Linked DNA regions of Homo sapiens: all the other regions are linked to region 4. The links are contacts of gene promoters, found by promoter capture Hi-C in blood cells and fetal thymus (Javierre and others, 2016). All regions are on one chromosome and are shown on one strand. The core of a region is centred on a gene start or on the middle of the fragment in contact, and the rest is flanking DNA. Distances in the headings are between cores, read along the strand shown.

The links. Contacts are between HindIII fragments. The CHiCAGO score rates a contact against its expected background, and 5 or more counts as called.
Region 1: a contact is called between a fragment that was not itself captured here and the fragment with the promoter of TFE3 in region 4, in 3 of 17 cell types (total B cells, naive B cells and naive CD8 T cells). The highest score is 6.4, in total B cells.
Region 2: a contact is called between the fragment with the promoter of GLOD5 here and the fragment with the promoter of TFE3 in region 4, in 2 of 17 cell types (megakaryocytes and activated CD4 T cells). The highest score is 6.1, in megakaryocytes.
Region 3: a contact is called between the fragment with the promoter of WAS here and the fragment with the promoter of TFE3 in region 4, in 1 of 17 cell types (M0 macrophages). The highest score is 5.1, in M0 macrophages.

The regions. Positions count from the first base shown.
Region 1 is chrX:48,649,147-48,651,846 of GRCh38, reverse strand. All of the region lies in intron 1 of LOC124905186 (a long non-coding RNA gene), which reads right to left. Among named protein-coding and RNA genes, the nearest start is that of WAS, 33 kb to the left of the region's middle. The HindIII fragment of the contact is 7,789 bases long and covers 1-2,700 here.
Region 2 is chrX:48,760,435-48,763,134 of GRCh38, reverse strand. It overlaps GLOD5 (glyoxalase domain containing 5), which reads right to left and starts at 1,388. Exons shown (of 4, transcript NM_001080489.3): 1 at 1,282-1,388. The coding sequence starts at 1,344. RefSeq lists a cis regulatory region at 894-1,636. The HindIII fragment of the contact is 2,551 bases long and covers 1-1,517 here.
Region 3 is chrX:48,682,485-48,685,184 of GRCh38, reverse strand. It overlaps WAS (WASP actin nucleation promoting factor), which reads right to left and starts at 1,386. Exons shown (of 12, transcript NM_000377.3): 1 at 1,200-1,386; 2 at 762-902. The coding sequence starts at 1,331. The HindIII fragment of the contact is 18,512 bases long and covers 1-2,700 here.
Region 4 is chrX:49,041,958-49,044,657 of GRCh38, reverse strand. It overlaps TFE3 (transcription factor binding to IGHM enhancer 3), which reads left to right and starts at 1,301. Exons shown (of 10, transcript NM_006521.6): 1 at 1,301-1,547. The coding sequence starts at 1,432. RefSeq lists a silencer at 1,331-1,570 and an enhancer at 1,112-1,975. The HindIII fragment of the contact is 3,845 bases long and covers 792-2,700 here.

The sequences.
Region 1 (2,700 bases), core at 43-2,542, 390 kb after region 4:
TCACTCTCTCGCCCAGGCTGGAGTGCAATGGCACGATCTCCACTCACTGCAGCCTCCTCCTCCTGGGCCCAAGCGATCTTCCCACCTCAGTCCCCCAAGTAGCTGAGACTACAGGTGTGCACCACCACACTCAGCTAATTTTTGTATTTTTTGTAGAGACGGGATTTTGCCGTGTTGCCCAGGCTGGTCTTGAACTCCTGACCTCAAGCAATCCACCCACCTCTGCCTCTCAGAGTGCTGGGATTACAGGCATGAGCCACCACGCCCAGCTCATATACCCATTTTAAAGATGAGGAAAGTGCAGCACAGAGACATTCAGTAACTGGCACAGCTAATAAGTGGCAGAACTGGAATTCAAATCCAAGCTAACTCCAGAGTCCCCCTCTTTACCACCACACACTGCCAACAGAAATGTTGTTCTGACTGCAAAGAAATTGCTCACTTTTTAATTTAAGAAAAAAGGATGATCAAGAGAATGAGATGATAGCCAGGTGTGGTAGTGTGCACCTGTAATCCCAGCTACTTGGAGGTTGAGGCAGGAGAATTGCTTGAACCCAGGAGGCAGAGGTTGCAGTGAGCCGAGATTGCACCACTGCACTCCAGCCTGGGTGACAGAGTGAGACTCCGTTCCCCCCTCCCCACAAACGTGAATGAAATGACAAGCCACAATATTTGCAAAAGAGGTGTCTGATAAATGACTATTATCCAAAATTGCAAAGAGCTCTTAAAACTCAACGGTAAGAAAATGAACAACCTGATTAAAAAATGGGCAAAAGACCTGAATAGACACCTCACCAAAGAAGGTGGACAGATGGCAAATAAGCATATGAAGATGCCCAACATCATATGTCATTAGAGACTTGCAAATTAAAACAACAGTTAGGCTGGGCGCAGTGGCTCATGCCTGTCATCCCAGCACTTTGGGAGACCAAGGCGGGCGGATCACCTGAGGTCAGGAGTTCAAGACCAGCCTGACCAACATGGAGAAACCCCGTCTCTACTAAAAATACAAAATTAGCTGGGCGTGGTGGCACATGCCTGTAATCCCAGCTACTAGGGAGGCTGAGGCAGGAGAATTGCTTGAACCTGGGAGGCGGAAGTTGCGGTGAGTCAAGATCGCGCCATTGCACTCCAGCCTGGGCAACGAGAGTGAAACCCTGTCTCAAAATTAAAAAAATAAAAAATAAAATAAAACAACAGTGAGATGCCACTACACACCTATTAGAATGGTGAAAACAACACACTGACAACACCAAATGCTGTCGAGGATGTGGAGCAACAGAAACTCTCATTCATGAGAATGCAAAATGGCACAGCCACTTTGGAAGACAGTTTGGCGGCTTCTTACAAAACTAAACATACTCTTACTATACCATCCAGTAATTGCATTCCTTGATATTTACCCAAATGACTTGAAAACTTATGTCCCCACGTAAATCTACACACAGGAATGTTTATAGCAGCTTTATTCATAATTGCAAAAACATGGAAGCAACCAAAATGTCCTTTGGTAGGTGAGTGGATAAATAAACTGGTACATCCAGATAGTGGAATATTATGCAGTGAGAAAAAGAACTGAGCTACCAAGCCATAAAAAGACATGGAAGAGGCCAGGCGCGGTGGCTCATGCCTGTAATCCTAGCACTTTGGGAAGCGGAGGCAGGTGGATCACTTGAGGTCAGGAGTTTGAGACCAGCCTGGCCAACATGGTGAAACCCCATCTCTACTAAAAATGAGCTGGGCGTGGTGGCACACGCCTGTAATCCCAGCTACTCAGGAAGCTGAGGCAGGAGAATCACTTGAACCCGGGAGGCGGAGGTTGCAGAGAGCCGAGATCGCGCCACTGCACTCCAGCCTGGGTGACAGAGCGAGACTCTGTCTCAGAAAAAAAAAAAAAAATGGAGGAAACTTAAATGCATATTACTAAGTGATAGGTTTGGCTGTGTCCCCACCCAAATCTCATCTTGAATTATAGCTCCCATAATTCCCACGCGTTGTGGGAGAGACCCAGTGGGAGATAACTGAATCATGGGGGGCAGTTTCCCTCATATTGTTCTCATGGTAGTGAATAAGTCTCACAAAATCTGATGGTTTCATAAGGGGAAAACCCTTTTGCTTGGTCCACATTCTCTTTTATCTGCCACCATGTAAAACATGCCTTTTACCTTCCACCATTATTGTGAGGCCTCCCCAGCCACGTGGAACTGTGACTCCGTTAAACCTCTTTATAAATTACCCAGTCTTGGGTATGTCTTTATAAGCAGCATGAGAACAGACTGATATACTAAGTGAAAGAAGCCAATCTGAAAAGGCTACATACTGTATGATTCCAACTATATGACATTCCGGAAAAGGCAAAACTAAGGAGGCAGTAAAAAGATTAGTGGTTTACAGGAGTTGAGGGGAAGGAGAGATGAATAAGTGGAGCACAGAGGATTTTTAGGGCAGTGAAACTACTCTGCATGATACTGCAATGATGGATATGTGTCCTTGTATCTTTGTCAAAACCCATAAAATATACAACACGAGTGAGTCATAATGTAAACTATGGACTTTGGGTGATGATGATGCGTCAATTGCAGGTTCATCAATTGCAACAACTGTACAGCTCTGGTTAGGGGTGGTGATAGTGACAGAGGTTGTGGGTGTGTAGGGGCAGGAGTTATCTGGGAAATTTCTGCACTTTCTGCTCAATTTTGC
Region 2 (2,700 bases), core at 139-2,638, 280 kb after region 4:
AAGCTCAGGTCATTGATTTTCAACTTTTCTACTTTTCTGATCTGTGCATTTAGAACTATAGATTTCCTCTAAGCACTGCTTTGGCCACATCTGCATCATTTTGATAGTCTGTTAGAAATAAACTCCACCTATTCCTCCCATTATTCTATTCTTCCCTGCCAGCTTAGATTCACTCCCCAGATCCTGCTTTGCAGACTCGGAGCTCCATCCTTGCAAATTCAAGGACGAGCAGGGATGGCTGTCTTCAATAACAGGAAGGCCAGCGTAGCTCAGAACCCAAGAGTGAGTGAGAGATAAGTGGGAGGGCAAGGCAGGGTCTGGATCCTGCAGACTCTTGGAGGTGAAGTTACAAAGCCTGCTTTATAAAATGATGATCAAGACATAGTCATCACACAAAGGACTGGGTGCAGTGGCTCACGTCTGTAATCCTAGCACTTTGGGAGGCCAAGGTGGGTGGATTACATGAGGTCAGGAGTTTGAGACCAGCCTGGCCTACATGGTGAAATCCTGTCTCTATTAAAAATACAAAAATTAGCTGGGCATGGTGACGTGCACCTGTAATCCCCTACTCGGGAGGCTGAGGCAGGAGAATCGCTTGAACCTGGGAGGCAGAGGTTGCAGTGACCTGAGATTGCACCACTGCACTCCACCCTGGGCGACAAGAGCAAACCTCGGTCTCAAAAAAAAAAAAAAAAAAAGACATAGTAATCACACAAGGCTTACTGTGTGCCAAGCCCCGTTTTACACACTCTACAAAAATATAATCCATTTTATTTCTCACCACAGCATATAAAATCCCTATAGTCAGAGTGCCCGGAACACCATGTCCTTCCTCCTTTGGCCTCCTCTACAGGGAAGTGTTCTGTCTTCCTACAGGGTCCTCTTCAAGGTCCCCTTCAGGTTGCCAGGGGCCTCTGAATTCCTCTCCTAAAGCTCAAGGTCAGCGCTGTGTTTCCTAGCCTCTCTCCACATGGCCTTAATCATGACAGCTTTGGGGGCACCCTGCGTGAGCCACCTTTGTATCTCTCCACCTGTCCCTGGCTAAACTGGGGGAGGAGCCAGCCCTCAGCCCCGGCCCAGCCCTGCACACCTGAGCACAGGGCCCTCCATGGCTTAGAGCCGGGCCTTTCCATGGGCCTCTGCTGCCCTCTGCTTGTCTCTGAAAGAGAAAGGGAGAGAGGAGGACAGGAAATGGGAGCCCGCAGAGAAGGGAAACAGGTTACTAGACCAGTTTCAGTGCCAACACCCTTGCCCCAGATCCCCAGGGGCCATCTTGTTCACCTGTTTCTCCAAAGTCCTGCCCCACATCTTGACTGGCAGCCTGGAGGGCAGATGGCGCAGCATGGCAGGGTAGGCGTCTTTGCCCAGGGTCCTCCCGACAATCCTCTGGCTCAGCGCCTGGAGATCAAGGGGCAGGAATGGGAGGGCACAGGCTGAGGACTGTGGGAGGTGACACAGGTAGGTAGTGCAAATGGAAGGACTTTAACATTAAATTCAGGGCCTCAAAATTGAAAGCTTAAAGTGGATGTGTGTAAGGGATTACTTCTTGTTAACACTGAAGGCTGGGTGCGGTGGTTCATGCCTGTAATCCCAGCACTTTGGGAGGACAAGGCACGTGGATCACCTGAGATCAGGATTTCGAGACCAGCCTGGACAACATGGCAAAACCCTATCTTTACTAAAAATACAAAACATTAGCCAGGCATGGTGGCGGGCGCCTGTAATCCCAGCTACTTGGGAGGCTGAGGCAGGAGAATCGCGTGAATCCGGGAGGCGGAGGTTGCAGTGAGCCGAGATGGCGCCATTGCATTTCAGCCTGGGTGACAGAGCAAGACTCCATCTCAATAATAATAATACTGAAAAACCACCAAGTATTAAGGGGATCTTTATTCTAGCGTGTGATGCCTCTGGTCTACTTAGGGGTATGTCTCCAAAGTGTGAGATCTGTGAGCTGTTTGAGAGTGTGTGTCAGGGGTATGAAGTTGTGAGCTATCTGAGTTAGAGTATGACTGCTCTGACCCATTAGGTGTCTGTTTCCAAGCCAAGATCCCTGAACTCTTAAGAGTTCTGAGCCCCTTGGTCAAGCACGGTGGCTCACGCCTGTAATCCCAGCACTTTGGGAGGCCAAGGTGGACGGATTACTTGAGGCTGGGAGTTCGAGACCAGCCTGGCCAACATGGTAAAGCTCCATCTCTACTAAAAATACAAAAATTACCCAGGCATGGTGGTGTGCACCTGTAGTCCCAGCTATTCAGGAGCCTGAGGCAGGAGAATAGTTTGAACCCGGGAGGCGGAGGTTGCAGTGAGCCGAGATCGCGCCATTGCACTCCAGCCTGGGTGACAGAGTGAGACTCTGTTTAAAAAAAAAAAAGTTCTGAGCCCCAGGGTGTGATGTTCCTGAATTATTTTGGGGGATGAGTTTTGGGGGATGAGATTTGCAGTCTTCCTCCTCCTCCCCACTCACCCTTCACTCACCCTCACCTTCCGCTGCTGAGAGTCAGAGAACATTCATCAGCCCAGTTGCTGTTCACTTTACCCTGAGCAGAACTCCCCCATCTCCCTTACAGGTTACTTGTCTGGCCCCTGGAGCATGTGAGTTTGAGATTTTTGTTTCTAGTTACCCCCAACACAAACACTTTGTGTTGTGGATATTGTTTTGTTTTTGTTTTTTTTTGAGACAGTGTCTCACTTTGTCACCCA
Region 3 (2,700 bases), core at 137-2,636, 360 kb after region 4:
TTGGGGGTTGGAGTTGAGATTTGAAGTTCAGACACATAGACTTGGGAGTTTCGCGGGGAGTCCAGCTAAAGTAAGTGCAATTTGGGGTTTGTGGAGAGAGTTATGGTTTAGGAGTTTGGTGGATATTTGATAGCCTTGGGATCTGGAAGTTATGCTGGGTCCATCTTTATGGGTTTAAAAGGATGAATTTGGGGCTTAAACCTAGAAAGTTCAGGTCAGGGGATTGTGGAAAAGACTTTTTGCTTAAGAACTACCTCGGTATTTGAGTGTTCAGGAATTTTAATATGGGAACTCTGGGGTCTGTGCTGTGGATTTAGAAGGACAGATTTGGAGTTCAAGGATCAATGGAATATTCAACTTTGGGGTTTGTTGAACAGATTTATGACTTAGGAGCTTGGCAAACATCTGGGGTTCAGGAGTTTTGATGAGAGATTCCTGGGATGCAAAATGTTGAGTTTAGAATAGATTTGAGGTTCAGGTACAAATACAGTGCTCATTTATTGGAATTTGTGGAAAAGATTAGGCTTAGGCAGCAGACTAATACTGGGGGCTTTAGAGATCTTGATACGGAGACTGGGGCCAGTCATTGCAGACTTAGAAAGGCAAGTCAGAGTTTGCCATCTGGATGAGTCTTTGGTTCTGGGGCTCAGGGATTCACTGATCAGGTCTGAGGTCTTGAAGCTATGGACACATATGGACACAGATCTGGGTTTGCGGGTTGAGAACTGGCTTGCAAGTCCAGTCGGGGGTGGGGGGGTCACCTGAAGGCCGTAAAGGCGGATGAAGTAGGACTTCTGGGGGTTATCCTTCACGAAGCACACAGCCCCACAATGCTCCTTGGTCCAGTGCTCAGCTCCAGGGGGCAGCGCCAGGTACAGCTGAACAACTGCAGTGGCCAGCGTCTGGGAGAGGAAAGCAGGGGTCAGTGGAGTCTGGTCAGGGGTAGCCACAAGGTCTTGGAGCCAGACCTGGTCCTTCCTGCCTCATGACAGTCATGGGCCCAAAGGAAGAGCTGCAGCCAGAGGGAAGGCAAGTAGACATTGAGATCTTCCTGGGAAGGGTGGATTATGACGGGAAATTCTAGGAGAGGAGATGATGGAGAGGGAAAGGAGGAGCGGGAGGAGGGGAAGAGAGAGAAGGAGGAGAGGAAGAGGAAGAAACGGTGGGGACGGGGCGGGGGCAGGAGATCCCCAGCTCACCAAGCATTTTCGTCCAAGCATCTCAAAGAGTCGCTGGTTCTCGTGGTCCTGGAGGAGGGTGGAGGGTATGTTCTGCTGAACCGCTGGTGCTCCTCGGCCCCCGGGCCTTCCTCCCATTGGGCCCCCACTCATGGTGCTTTCTGCCCTTGTCTTCTCTGGCGAGGCTCTGGGTGCAGGGTAAGAAGAGGAACTTCCGCAATGAGCAGCAAGGGAACAGGAAATGCAAAAAACCACAAGGGACAAGGGAAACAAGTCCTCCAGGGGCCCCTTGGTGGGCCTGGCCTCCTCGTTAGGCTGAGCTTGGGCCCTCCGCCATCAGATTGGAACCCTCCTCCACTTGACTGCTTAGACCCACCTTTTGGATCAGCTTGGGTCCTCCTCCCCCTTTCTTACTCTCTGGGGCCCATCTCCTTCTGACTGGCTCAGACCCTCCTCCCTCTGGCTGGCAGCGAGAGCTTAGCACATCTGTGTGCAGGGCTCCCTGTGGCAAGGAGTAGTCATGGGCCTGGGTGGCCTCCTTTCTAAAGCACCTAGGTAGCCTGAGGCTGAGGCCCGAGGTCCCTAGTCCGGAAGGGTTACTACAGTAAAACTTTTCCTTTTGGCTGGGGACAATAGCTCACACCTGTAATCCCAGCACTTTGGGAGGCCGAGACGAGTGGATCACTTGAGGTCAGGAGTTCAAGACGAGCCTGGGCAACATGGCAAAACCCCATTTCCACTAAAAAATACAAAAATTAGCCAGGCATGGTGGCACACACCTGTAGTCCTAGCTGCTCAGGAGGCTGAGGCAGGAGAATCGCTTGAACCCAGGAGGCGGAGGTTGCAGTGAGCTGAGACTGCACCACTGCACTCCAGCCTGGATGATGACAGAGCAAGACCCTTGTCTCAAAAACAGCAACAACAACAACACAACAAAAACCCTTTTCCTTTTAATTACAGAGCGAGCCCCTGTGATCCACGCCTATCGTGAGTGCTTAGACACTGCCAATGACGCATATGCCTCTGGTCCACTTCCCCATCCCTTACCCTTGCCTCCCCGCAGCTCCCAAATTACTTTCTGCTTGTCATACTTTTTTTTTTCTTTTTTTTTTTGAGATGGAGTCTCACTCTGTCGCCAGGCTGGAGTGCGGTGGCACGATCTCGGCTCACTGCAACCTTTGCCTCCCGGGTTCAAGTGACTCTCCTGCCTCAGCCTCCCAAGTAGCTGGGACTACAGGCACACGCCACCACGCCCAGCTAATTTTTTTGTATTTTTAGTAGAGACAGGGTTTCACCATGTTGGCCAGGATGGTCTCGATTTCTCGACCTCGTGATCCACCTGCCTCGGCCTCCCAAAGTATTAGAATTACAGGCGTGAGCCACCGTGCCCAGCCCATCCCTTTTTTAAAGAAAGGAACTTTATATCATATATGAATGCCTGAACAACATCTTGTTTAGTTTTCATTGCACTTGAAGTTTGTAAAAGCACATAATCTTCAAAGGCTTGCTTTCTCCCCACTGG
Region 4 (2,700 bases), core at 52-2,551:
TGAGTTTACGAAAGCAACTGACAGACCTGTGAAATAATGATGCCAATACAGGAAGGTCCAAGGTAAATGAAAGCCCGGTGAAATTCCTGGAGGCGCAACTCAGGGTGGGGTCTTGGGATGTCAGGAAAGAGGAAGGGAAGGCTGTAGGTCTGGGTGTTTTGTGAGCTATTTGCACCTGAGGATATATGAGTGAGACCCTCCGCCTTGTGCGAGCCGGCTTGCATGCGTCTGGCATACAGAAGCGCTCAGTGAATGTTGAATAAGTGAACAAATGAGTGAATCAACTAATTTTGGGAAGCTTCTTGTATGCCAAACAACCTGCTAGCACTTTTCATACATTATCTTTAATCCTCAGAACAACCCTGCCAGACAGGTATTTTGACCCCCATTTAACAGGCCAGGAAAGCTGAGGCTGGGAGAGGGGAGGTCCCCTTCCCTATTCAAACCTGGATCTTTGTGATTCCAGAAGTCGTCATTCACCGAAGGGACCAGATTCATTCACCCGTCAAGAATTTATTAAGCACATATTGCGCAGCGCAATGAACATAGTACAACCGCTCTCGATGGCATGGAACAGGCGGAATACTCCCGGAAGACCAGCTGGGCGGCTGGACTGCGGACAGCGAAAGGGGGGGGTTTCTGGCCCGCACCTTCAGGGAATGTAGCTGCCTCTGCCTCATAGTTATGGCTTTGGCTGAGAGAGCACAGCCAGATCGAGGTTGGAGCGCGGTCTAGGGCTCAGATATTACAAATATTGGCCGAAAGAGGGCGCGGTTCCGCAGCTAAAAGCTTGGCCAGGAGACCCTCCGTGCGCCGACTGGCCATCGATGCGCAGGCGCAGAGGACCCAAGGAGCGGCTTAATATTACCTTGCAGAGGGATAATTTGAGAAGAGAGGGCGTGGCTCCGAAAGCGACGCAAACATAGAGGCGTGGTTCAACCAAATCAACCCTCGCCTATTTGTCGCTGCCCCTGAGGGCGTGGTCTGGGTGCTGCTTCTCGGAATGAGGGCGGGCCGAATCGCGTTTTTCCTCCGCGTCGGAGGCGTCGCTTAGGGTGGGCCCTCGAATCGCCGTTCAGCGATTGGCCGCCTCGCTAATGGGTCGTGGCCAGACGGGCCATCCATCCCCAGTGCGGTCACTTCCTGTGGAGTTTCCCCATCCCTGGGAGGAGGGAGGAGGGGGAAGAAGACGAGGGGGAGGAGGGCGGTCGTCCGGGGTTAGGTTGAGGGGGGGCGTCGGTCCGTTCTGGGCGGGGGATGACTCACAGCCCATCCCATCTCCCCGACGCCGCCCGCCCGCGCAGTGCTAGCTCCATGGCTTAGCGGAGGAGGCGGCGGTGGCGAGCTGGGGGGAGGGGGGACTCTTATTTTGTTAGGGGGACCGGGCCGAGGCCCGACCGGCCTGGCAGGGCTCGCCCGGGGCCGGGCGTCATGTCTCATGCGGCCGAACCAGCTCGGGATGGCGTAGAGGCCAGCGCGGAGGGCCCTCGAGCCGTGTTCGTGCTGTTGGAGGAGCGCAGGCCGGCCGACTCGGCTCAGCTGCTCAGGTGCGGGGCCGCCTGGGGCTGGGAGTGCCGACTGGGGCTCCCAGGGGCCTGATCTCGGGGGCAGTGGGGGCCCCGGACTGGGATTGGAGGCCCTCGGCCTAGCCTTGGAGGACGTCGGGGCGCCCGTCTTGGGGGGGCACCTAAGGAATCCGGCAGTGGCCTGCTTGGATTGTGGCTTTATTAAAGGAGTCGTGGGAGTGCATTAAGCGGGGTCTGGGTCAGGTTTGGGGAGCCCTTGACTGCGTCTAGAGGGGCCTATTCTGGAGTATCCAGAAACTGGTCTGAGATAGCTGAACTTGGTAGACAGGGTCTCTGATTAGAGGCTGAATTCGGGGATTTTCAGTCGGACATGAGGGGAATGAATTTGAGGGGACACTGTCAGGTGAGGCACTGGTTTTAAGGGAATCCTAGAATCTTTTTTCCCTCAGTGTGGGAGAAGGGGTCCTGAGGGACAGAAGTGCTGTCTTGGGAGCTTGGTGCCTCTCAGTGACTGGTTGCTGTGTTTGGGGATAACATGAATCTGGAGGGATTTGGAGGTATCTCAGATATGCTGCCTGGGACCAGCCTTGTGAGTGCGTGTGAATGAACAAGAGAAGCAACATTCAGCAAGACTTGACCAGAATAATCCTTTCCCCTCTGCCCGCCTACCCAGCTGGGGCAGATCCCAAGGATAGTGGAAAAGCCCTCTTCCCACACCTGTTAAGGGCCTGAATGGAAGATAGACAGCCAGGCAGAGGGCGATGATGTTACCTCTTAGCTCAGAGGCCTCAGACCTTGTTTGGGAACCCAGAGGAGGCTCTTGTTCATGCTGCTACTCGCTCTAGCCTCTCAGCCCTTCCCACTCCCTAGCCCCACACCCCTTTTCTTTTTATCTTCTTTTCGATCTCCGAGCTCCTGGGGGTAATCTTGAATCTGTCCATAGAGCTGGAACGAGTACAGATTGCACCATCCCTGCCTGGGTGGATCCCCTCTGGCCTCTTCTCATCCTTACTTTCATCAATGGGCTTTGGAGCCCCAGCCCTCCCTGCTCACCCCAGTGCCCATCTCTTCCAACTTCTGTGCAATGGGTGTGTGAGCCCTGGGTGGGGGGGGGTCTTTGCCTCCTTTGTGCCTGGGATTGTGCTGAGCTCAGTGGCTCGCCCGAGCTTCCTCT